3 separate regions of the Homo sapiens genome follow, and regions 1 and 3 are each linked to region 2. The links are contacts of gene promoters, found by promoter capture Hi-C in human tissues and cell types (Jung and others, 2019). All regions are on one chromosome and are shown on one strand. Each heading gives the region's core, a stretch centred on a gene start or on the middle of the fragment in contact. The rest is flanking DNA. Distances are from core to core; before and after follow the strand shown. Region 1 overlaps SVIP (small VCP interacting protein). Region 2 holds the start of CCDC179 (coiled-coil domain containing 179). Region 3 overlaps LINC02718 (long intergenic non-protein coding RNA 2718).

Evidence for each region. The method cuts DNA at HindIII sites, captures the fragments that hold promoters and counts their contacts. A contact is called where the count stands out against the background at its distance.
Region 1: a contact is called between a fragment that was not itself captured here and the fragment with the promoter of CCDC179 in region 2, in 2 of the 25 tissues and cell types used here (adrenal gland and hippocampus).
Region 3: a contact is called between a fragment that was not itself captured here and the fragment with the promoter of CCDC179 in region 2, in 1 of the 25 tissues and cell types used here (heart right atrium).

The regions. Positions count from the first base shown.
Region 1 is chr11:22,824,381-22,827,986 of GRCh38, reverse strand. It overlaps SVIP (small VCP interacting protein), which reads left to right. Exons shown (of 4, transcript NM_148893.3): 2 at 113-163; 3 at 667-780. Among named protein-coding and RNA genes, the nearest start is that of LINC02718, 3.2 kb to the left of the region's middle. The HindIII fragment of the contact is 6,049 bases long and covers 1-3,606 here.
Region 2 is chr11:22,858,909-22,862,364 of GRCh38, reverse strand. It overlaps CCDC179 (coiled-coil domain containing 179), which reads left to right and starts at 1,891. Exons shown (of 4, transcript NM_001195637.2): 1 at 1,891-1,988; 2 at 2,869-2,913. The coding sequence starts at 1,944. All of the region lies in intron 3 of LINC02718 (long intergenic non-protein coding RNA 2718), which reads right to left. The HindIII fragment of the contact is 9,229 bases long and covers 1-3,456 here.
Region 3 is chr11:22,893,672-22,897,349 of GRCh38, reverse strand. The region is part of intron 3 of LINC02718 (long intergenic non-protein coding RNA 2718); the gene reads right to left. Among named protein-coding and RNA genes, the nearest start is that of CCDC179, 35 kb to the right of the region's middle. The HindIII fragment of the contact is 6,473 bases long and covers 1-3,678 here.

The sequences.
Region 1 (3,606 bases), core at 411-2,910, 34 kb after region 2:
GGCCAGTACCGAATATTTTTGTAAATTGTTATAGTGCCTATGAAATAAATGTGAATAATTTATTAATAATAATGTTTGTTATTTTAATACATATTTTTACACATTTATTTAGGAAGAGAAAAGAGCAAAGCTTGCAGAGGCTGCAGAGAGAAGACAAAAAGAGGTAAGATTAAAGATCAAGTTTTGCCTACTTAGATAATTGAGTTTGGACTTTATTCTTCATAGATGTCCATAGCTAGATTTTCTAACGCAAATGGCCTTTGATATCCCAAAAATTTACATTTAAATGTAATTATTTTCAAAATGATTTCCTTATTTATATGAATTGCATTAATATATTTATATTAATATATGAAAACTATCATATCTTCTCTAAATTCAGATACTCTTTTAGTAACATCCTTCCTTTTAAAATGGCTGTGCATTGTAAAATACTTACAGATGTGAAGCAAGTTTAGGGGAAAATTTGTATAGTTACAAAATACCCAGTGAAGAAATGATGTTTTATGTAAGGCTGTTGTAGAAACACTCCTTCTATGTTACCAAAAATAAACCAACTCCCTACCCCCAAAGAAAAACCTAGAAAGCAAAGATAGACAAAAAAATGTTTTGCACACTGGACAGATTTTTGTTGTCTTTCTGTTTTTCTTATCAAATTTCTTCAAGGCTGCATCTCGGGGAATTTTAGATGTTCAATCTGTGCAAGAAAAGAGAAAGAAAAAGGAAAAAATAGAAAAACAAATTGCTACATCCGGGCCCCCACCAGAAGGTGGACTTAGGGTAAGTATTAAAATTTTCTTAGTGATTAACTTAACTGGCATTTTAAAAAAACTTAAGTAGCAATCCATTCATAATTTTCTCCTGAAATGTATTATCAGAAAATTTTGAAATAGTTTAAAAGCATGAGTAGTAAATATTGGAAGTAATACCAATTTATTTTAACATTTATTGGAATCAATTAGCTTTTTTCCCCAAAATGAAATAATAGATTTATTATTTTAACACTATATATATTTTAATACTCTTATGCTTACTACTAATCTTAAATAATTCAAAAATTCAAGCAATATGGAGAAGTATAAAGAAGTGTAAAAGTCATCCAAACTAAGTACCATTTTGACAGACATAATTTCTAACCTTCATTTATATATCTTATTAAATTGGATTACGCTATAAGTTCTGTTTTATGGCCTGAGCTCTTTTACGCATTGATTTGGAATCTTTGATCTTTCCATTGCCCCTGTTTATTATAGTTATGTAAATGTTAATTTGGATTACAGAATGTATACAGGTGTGGGTATCATACACATACCTCCCTAGATATGGATCCCAGAGCTAGACACTGGGAATATAATGGTGGACAAGTTAAGCAGAGTCTCTGAATGCTGGAGTCTTTACACTCTAGCAGGACTTTAAAGGATTTATTTTTAAAATCCCTTAAAGCTCAGGAAAATAATGGCTCAGATATTAAGAATTTATTCTTGGTCCATTTTTAAAGTAAATAGTAGTATATTTGTGAAAAGGACAATGTCTTTAATTTCAGTCATTTATATTTAACTTGTCAATGATTTATGAGTACCTTTCAACAGATTTATTGGTTTTTTTTCTCTCAAAACTACACACACACACACATGCACATACATATACATGGACATATACACATACACTTGCCTACATGTAGATACTCTCGTAACTTGTGGGGCAGGCAGTTTATGAACACCCTGAGCAGTTGATTCTGGCTCAAGAATATCACAGAAATAAGAATGTGTGTCTGTGTATTTTACTATTGTACGTTACTTCATCTTATATCATTTAACGAATGAAAATTTATGAAGTTTTTTTATGGTGAACTTTTAGCAATATATAATTAGTTTCAATATAAGGTAAATAAGTCTGACCATTTTGCTTATGTTTTTTATAATTCCATAATAGAACAGAATAGGTCTAGTGTAAAGTAAAACAGTTGGGTGATAACGAGGTCAATTCTTTATCATATCTCAATATTCTGTTGAGATAAAGTGCTGTTTCACTAGGTTTACTTCATATAGGGTTGTCAAAAACAAACACAAAATTACAAAAGTTAAATTGTAGGACTGGAAATAATGAGATCCACTATTTCACAGTAGAAGTGGTGAAGGTATTAAGTTAAAGTCATACGTAATGTTATAGGAAAAGGATAATTTAATCAACACTTAATCATAATTAAGAAGACACTTCACAAGTTCTAACCTAATGAAATTAACATCAGCTTTTAAAGTATAATAAAGAAAGAGGCTTTCTTAAACTTGAAGCTTCCACACTCTGAAGTCTATAGATTAAAAAAAAAATTTAGGCCTTATATTACTTACAATCCATTCAAAAGTGCTCAAAATGTAAAACATACCCAAAGTTAAATTTAGTTTCTGTTTTTCTTTGTGTACTGTTCTTGTAAGAAATCTCTCAAACTCACTTAGTAAAAATGACCTTCAGGACCTTGAAACTATATAGTGGCAGGAGGATTTTCTCCAGTGGCTCACTGTCATTAGCCACTGCTGTTGTCCACTGTGAGTAATTTTTCCTTGGAATATTCCTCATCACCTACCACTACCACACTAGCTTCAAGTGGCATGCTCCATTCTGCTTGACACATGCACAACATGTCAAGAGCATGAAGTGAAAAAATTCTGGAAGGCTCAGGGATAACAGAAGGGAAAAATACAAGGCAGAAGTACTTAACCCTCAAAACGCTTGGCCTATGGTCCTTTAATGGCTGCTGTCTGGCTTGTTTCATGGGCTGGCCTGAAGTATTGGTAGAGTCTTCCTAAGGTAGGAAGGTTAGGAAGACTCTTCCCTAGGTAGAGTCTTTCTGACCTGACTCTACCTAGAGTATGAGTCTAGTTTGCATTCCCTGTCTTCATGCCTTTCACCTATTCATCTCCTGACCAGTGCTGCATCTTTCCAGGGTAATTAGCATGGGTAATGCTGTCTTCTGACTTCTTACCTGAAGAAGTCAATGTGATGATGGCATCAGGATGCAAAGTACTATCAGTACAGGATATAGCAGCACGGGAGTAAGGGTAGACCTCTAGTACAATGGCTTTCCACCTTAGCTGCATGTTGGAGTTTCATAGGCAGCTTTCAAAAAGGATTGTTCATTGGGCTCCACCTCACACCAGTCAGTCTCTGAGAGTAGGGTTTAGCCATCAGGACTGTTTTAAGCTTCCCAAGGTAATCTAATGTGAACCCAGATTGAGAATCACTATCCTAGCGTTTATAACACTTGTCCTAAGAGAGATGTTTTGGAAGATAGAGTCCCATGGGAATAAATGTTTAAAAATGCTAAATTGTATATTGTAGACTATATCCCCTTCTTAGAGACTAAAAAAGGCACAGAATTATGGCCTCTAAGAAATTGTACAATGAAGAAAAGCAAGTTTACTTGGATTAATCTTTAATGTTGAAAATTTATTTAAACATAGATTTTATATATATATGTGTGTATATATATACGTATATATATACATATATATATACGTATATATATGTGTATATATATATATATGTGTGTGTGTATATATATATATAAAACACCCAATAATATTCCTTGGATGTACTTGGAAAACACTA
Region 2 (3,456 bases), core at 642-3,141:
GGGGAGTTTCAAGAAGAGCATGGATAATGATTTTGAACATTACAGTTGGGCAAAACTGTTTACTTTTTCTAAGCCTAACTCATCAGAAAGACTTTTCAGCAGTTTCTAACGTGATACAAAAATCATATGATAGAAACTGTCCATTGAATTCAGGAGAAAGATCATTTGATTAACCATTTTGAGAAAAGCACCAGTGGAACAGTGGGAGTTGAAACAGGTTTCAGTAAGCCAAATCTTACACTGAACATAAAGAAGAGGCAGAGGTACAGACCACTCTCATGAATATTTACTTTATATAGAGGGGATGGGCAATAGATACAATTGGTTGTTGTTCTAAGGAGTTTCCTTTATTAGTTTGGAGAGGGGGAGATTTGAACTTACAGTAATGAAATGTTTAAAGGAAAGAGGCAATATAGAGAAGTTAACAAGGAGAGGAACAATCTGTAGAGCTAGATCTGAGGAGGCTCCTAGGAGGGAAATGGCATGCAAATGCAAATGGATAGATTTATTTGAGGCAACAGAAGGGATACCAATTTTTTTTTCCATTTCGACAGGGTTACAGGGAAAAGGATAATGTGGATATTGACAAGGTTATAGGATTTTAGGTGGTATTGAGGTAGCCCCAGTGAGGGCTTCAAAAGCAATGGTAGCATAGCACATAATTAGGAGCACATGATCTAAGGGCCAACCCTGGATTTAAATTCCAGCTCACCCTCTTACTAATAGCGTAACTTCAAGAAAGCAATTTAACATGCTAGCGCCTTGTTTCCCAGTGATTATAATCATGCCCTTACCCACCTTGAGTGGTCTAAAGACTTGATCAGTTAACACATATAAATTCATGTAACAGTGCTGAGCATAGTAAGCTCTATACATGTTCACCAGCATCAGAGTGTGAAGCACGGATTGTCCCACTTCTACTGGAAGTGCCTGAGTGTTGGTGGATTCAGAGATTTTAATAGAAGACAATTTGAAGGGAATACTGCAGAGCACAAAAAAAGCTGGTGCAACATAAAAGTCTTAAGCAGCTTTGAGGACCCAGTTTAAATTGGGGGTCACGGCCGGGCCTGGTGGCTCACGCCTGTAATTTCAGCACTTTGGGAGGGCAAGACGGGTGGATCACCTGAGGTCAGGAGTTTGAGAACAGCCTCCAATATGGTAAAACCCTGTCTCTACTAAAACTACAAAATCATTAGCCAGGCATTGTGGCATGCGCCTGCAGTCCCAGCTACTCGGGAGGCTGAGATGGGAGAATTGCTTGAACCCTCGAGGTGTAGGTAGCAGTGAGGTGGAGGTAGCAGTGAGCTAAGATTGTAGCACTGCACTCCAGCCTGGGCGACAGAGAGACTTGGCCAAAAAAAAAAAGAAAAAAGAAAATAAATAAATAAATAGATCTGGGGTCACAAATATGTATTCCAGCCATCTTCAAGCTTCTCCTCACTTCATCTGGTATAGATAGATGGGAAGAAGGCAGACAGTTGGGTCAGCCCAACTAGAAGCTGTGAAGGAACAACAATGAGGTGGTGGAATTGAGAACCCTAACAATAGATAGACAGTCTGAAGTAAGAGAACATGGAGACTAAGCTAGATATGTTAACAAATGAAAGGGGCTTTATAAAGAGAGAGACTAGAGAGATGAAGGGTAGAAAAGGTGGGAAATTGGTATTCTGCAATTTTCTGAGGAAGAAGGATAGGATATAAGGAATTATGGTAAACTGACTTCCATAACTCAAAGACACTGCAGACAACTTGAGGCCTTGCCTTCCCTGCACTGGACTGGAATACAACTGGGGAAAGGGTGGGGCCCATAGCAGGGAGAAGAATAAAGAGAATAGTGATGGAACTGGGTGGGGCAGGGCTTGAAGGCTGTGGGTGTGGGGCCCCATAATCATTTGGTCCAGGACAGGCAGTAGGCGTCAGGGGGCGCCCTAAGGCTCCACGGCATGTGCCTGTATTGCTGGGACATCGAGCCTTCCCAAGTCAACCCTGTGAGTCTGCTGGGGCCTACAACCTCAACTCTGCCACTCTGTCCTGTGCCTTGAGCTCCAGGCCACTGTGGCCTTGGCCATGGTGCTTCTAACTCTTGTAAATGTGGTTTGGTGCTGGGGGTTGGGAAATTCCAGGTGATGTAGACAGACTACATCCTGACTGCTGGACCCCTCTGAAACAAGAAAAAGCTCCACCCACTGTGTGCTTAGGGGTCAGGTACATCACCTGTATGTTGACTGCCCCATTGGCCTGCCCTAGGAGGTGGAGTGGAAATTACAGAAGTAGGGAGCAGGATAAAGTTCTCAATTGCCAGATGTGGAACAGATTGCTCTTGGGTCTTCTGGTTAAAAGATTGGATCAAAACGAGTGAAGGAGGAGTTATTTAAGGTACAATCAAGAAATAGAGGAAGTGGTGAGAATCTCGAAAACTAACAGCCAAGCTCCCTGTGCTTCAGAAAACCATACGATCTCAATCACATCACCAATTACTCCTAGGCTTTGAAACCAGATTGAAGACTAGATTGCTCAATAGCACCACTGAAGTCCTGTAGAAGCAGAAACATGCATTTTTCGATTTCTCGTACATTCTTTCCCTCCCGAATATATCTCTATACTCTGCCTTTTATCTGTAAGGTGGTTCACAGCTGGTTCTTTTTTATCATAATATCGTCTCCATCTTCCACCACAATTTTTATCTTAGATGTTTTTATTCTGAACTTGACTTTTTTCTTTTTGTTTTTTTAACCTGCTTCTTATAGTTGAAATGATTCATATAATACATAAATTTAAAAGTAGCATAGGCTTCCTATTATAATAATTAATTTACTGTTTTTAATGACTTTTTTGTGTGAATGTGTTTTAATTTTGTTTATTATATAGGAAGGACCAAGACAACATCATCCTTCAGAGGTCACTGAGCGGCAGGTAATGTTTAAATAAAGAACTAGGTTCTGGTTGTTTAAACATTGTGCTTGTAACTTGTTCCTTTATGTAGTGGTCCCTAACATAATAGAACTTGTATTAAGTAGACACTTCAGTATATTTCTTGGGACTCTGGGATCTAATGACTACTATTGGAATGGGTCTTAACTAGGGTAAACTAAATGGCTTATGTTATTTTTTAATGTAACATTTGACACATATACAAAAATAGATGTGGCAGATATAATTTATAAATTACAATATGCCTCCCATTTAAGGATTAAAATATTAGGTATTTCTGAATCCAGCTAGGGAATGCTTTTCTATTCTACCTCCTAAGGTCTCTCCCAGAGGTGACCTCCATCTTGAATTTTAGCTACATCAATCTCTTCCTCTTCTTTAATAGTTTGTTACATAGGTGTCTCTATAAGTGCACTATTTGCTTTTGCTTGGTTTTGAACTTTATAAACATAGGATCACACAAAATTTAGTGTATGATTTACTCTTTTTTCTCAATATTATTTCCTAAGATTTATCTACATTGCT
Region 3 (3,678 bases), core at 671-3,170, 35 kb before region 2:
TGCTTGTTGTGCTATTGCTACACCTCACATTTATTATTCTGTATTTCGTACAGAAATGCACATTTTATGGAAGCATTTTTTCTCCTGCTCTGTTAGCTTCTTCCTAGGAAATGCTACTAAACTTGTGTCACGTACCCTGTCTTGCAGCGTTTAGTTCAGGAGCCTTACAACCCGGCGCAGCTAGCTAATGAGGCTGAGGAAGAAGGTGAAGCCCGCTTCTGGAGCAAAATCTCTGCTGATCACTGCGAAATCAGTGCTGAAAGAGCCCCTCTTTCACTTAGAGGCTATAATGTTCTTCTTCTCCCCCAAATAACATTTTCTTCTGATAGCCAATTTTCACAAACAAAGGTCAAATGAGAGACAAAGATAAACCTGGATTCCACACTTTTCCATTTGTTATTAAGTATTTCCATTTCCATTAAGTATTCTTAATGATAAGAAGGTCTGAGTCTGTGAACCAAGGTGCTTCTTCTGAGTAGAAAGTTACCCAGAAAGGCAGATCTTTTCTCAGCAGGTTATATGAAATGTGCAGAATTAGAATGAATGTGAGGGAATATTTGCCTCGTGTCAGAGATCACCAATAAGCTACTGATGGCTCTGAACCAAAGAATGAATGTGTGTGTGTGTGTTTGTGTGGTCTTTTATTTTTCTAAACTAATGTATTTTTGCAGTATTAGACTTCATGACAAAGTTCCTTCTCTGTACCCTATTTTTCTTTTTTTTTTTTTTGAGATCGAGTCTCACTCTGTCGCCCAGGCTGGAGTGCAGCGGTGCAATCTCAGCTTACTGCAAGCTCCACCTCCCGGACTCATGCCATTCTCCTGCCTCAGCCTGGGCAGCTGGGACTGTCAGCGCCTGCCACCATGCCCGGCTAATTTTTTTGTATTTTTTAGTAGAGATGGGGTTTCACCATGTTAGCCAGGATGGTCTCGATCTCCTGACCTCATGATCTGCCCGCCTCGGCCTCCCAAAGTGCTGGGATTACAGGCGTGAGCCACCGCGCCCAGCCTCTGTACCCTATTTTTCTAAGATGACCATTCTTCTATTCCTTGCCCTCCTCAGCTCAGGCAAGATTATGGTGAATTGCGGTGTTCTACAGTGGGTCTCACAATACTTTACCAGTGGCTATTTTACATTTAGATGCATCCACATTATACAGAGCTGAAATGGAAAAACTTTCACATCATACTACCGTTACTGGATGTGACATGCTCTCACATCTATGTTTTAGTCAATCCTTTTTAAATTGTAGTTAAGGCAGGTCGTGATTGAAATAGTTTGGCTGTGTTCCCACCCAAATCTCACCTTGAATTGTAATAATTCCCCACATGTCAAGAGCAGGGCCAGGTGGAGATAATTGAATCATGGGGGCAGTTTCCTCCATGCTGTTCTCATGGTAGTAAATAAGTCTCACAAGATCTGATGGTTATATAAATGGGAGTTCCCCTGCACAAGCTCTCTTGTCTGCTGCCATGTAAGATGTGACTTTGCTCCTCATTCTCCTTCTACCATGATTGTGAAGCCTCCCCAGGCATGTGGAACTGTGAGTCAATTAAACCTCTTTCCTTTATAAATTACCCAGTCTCGGGTATGTCTTCATTAGCAACCTGAGAACAGACTAATACAATTGGCCCATTAAATTGATTTCAAGATCCATTTAAAGGTCATGATTACCACTTTAAAATACTAAGACCCCGGAACATGAGGGGACATCTTGGATGGAACAGTCAGGTGAGTGCAGCCCTATGCATAAATTGGCCTTCACGGTATGCAGCAAAAGGGTCCAGCTGAGCCCATTGGACCCACAGGATAATAAGAAACAATAAATTATTTTTCTTTTAAGCTTACAAAAAAACCCCCCAGAAACAACAAAACATTAGTTTTGGTGACAGTGAGGAAGGTCAAGGGGTGAGGAGGCTGGGTTTTCTTTCTTTGTATGAACTGTATTAAGTTTTCTCTCAGAGTTTTAAGGATGCCTCTTGTGGTTGTCCAAGGGAGAAATTGTGAAGCTAGTGCTATGAATCCCTTCTGAAATGCATACGTGGAATGACTAAGGGTGGAAAGACAATGAGCAACTTGATGATACCCTCAACCAGAATAAGAAAAACACGGGCTGATTAGTAACATAAAATGTTATGTTTAAGAAGAGCCCAGGACTTGAGTTTACATGGTTCTGAGTATAAATCTACTACTTAGTTTGTAATAATTACTTAACATCTCCAGTCCTTAGCCTTGTCTTCTGGACAATGGAGATGGAAGTAGTGTAGTATCTTCTCATCAGATTTTTAGATAATTAAATGCATCAACATATGAGAACTGAAATAACCTACTATATAACTTAGGATATAAATAATAGTCTGCAATACATTTCCTGAAACACAACCTTTGCATTCATACATTCTCAGCTTATCAGAGGATCCGGTGTTTCTAATCCACTGCAGCCTTCCCCATATATGAAGTCTTACTCTTGTCTAAAATGTATGTTTTCTCTCTCCTTGTCTCTGAATCAGTGCTCAGATATACCCCCTGGAGGCTGGGAGATTTTAAAATTGCTTCTGCCACCCAAACTTGGTTGCTACAGACCAATACCCTATACTACGTATACACCATGGCTAGTGTCAAAGCCAAAGGCTGAATGACACCATGACACTGACACATTTCAAAACGATCCTAGGCTTGCTGCTGTGGGCATGTCTAAAATGTGTCATTATAAATGAATTCCCTGTTCTGGACCTTGCAACTGTTGACATATAGGAGCTTTCTCTAAGTCGCAGAGAATCTTTCAGGCAGGAGGAAGAACATTCTTTACCTCTCTACCCCCAGTGATGTGTCCAGCAGAAAACAGTGCTGCCTTGGGGCCCAGTAGATAGTGGATACAGCATAATAGTGAGTGAAAGGAGAATAGAGGAAATAGTAGCCCTACAGCACCATTAAGGAATGCTACTGCAGCCTTAGCATCCTCCTCTTTTACATACCAGGACGGAAGAGACAGTAAGATGTTATTCAGTGAATTCAACATATTTCACTCTTGGTTCCACGTAAGACACTGGCCTCAGTTCTCCTGGAAGGGGGTTAAGAGATTCCTAATTCATCTGGAGGAGTGAGATGCAGGTTGACTATACTATCTATTCAGCTGGTTTCAGGATGATCGATGAAAATATAATTGTGGACTCATTCCTCATTTCTTGTGTGCTACATCTAGACTTTCTAAAAAGATCCTAACAACAATGTTGTAAACATATTTTCTGTGGTTCCAGAGAGCTACAGAAGAACAACATGGCAGAGTGGAAACAGTATGAGTCTTGAGGTAGGTTGTGGGTTTTTAGTAATGATTCTGTTATTTATTATTTTTGTTTCTTAAGCAAACTATTGACTTCTGTGAACAAATTTCCTTGTTGATAGTTGATATGGTTTGGATACATGCTTCCTCCAAATCTCATGTTGAAATGTGGCTCCCAGTGTTAGAGGTTGGGCCTGGGGGAAGGTCTTTGGGTGATGGGGGCAGATTCCTCATGAATTGCTTGATGTCCTCCTAGTGGTAATGAGTGAGTTCTCACATTGAATTTACATGAGATAAGGTTGTTAAAAAGAGTCCAGGACCTCCCCTACCACTCCCTCTTGCTACCTCTCTCTCACGATGTGATGCACCTGCCCCCTTTTGCCTTCCACCATGATTGG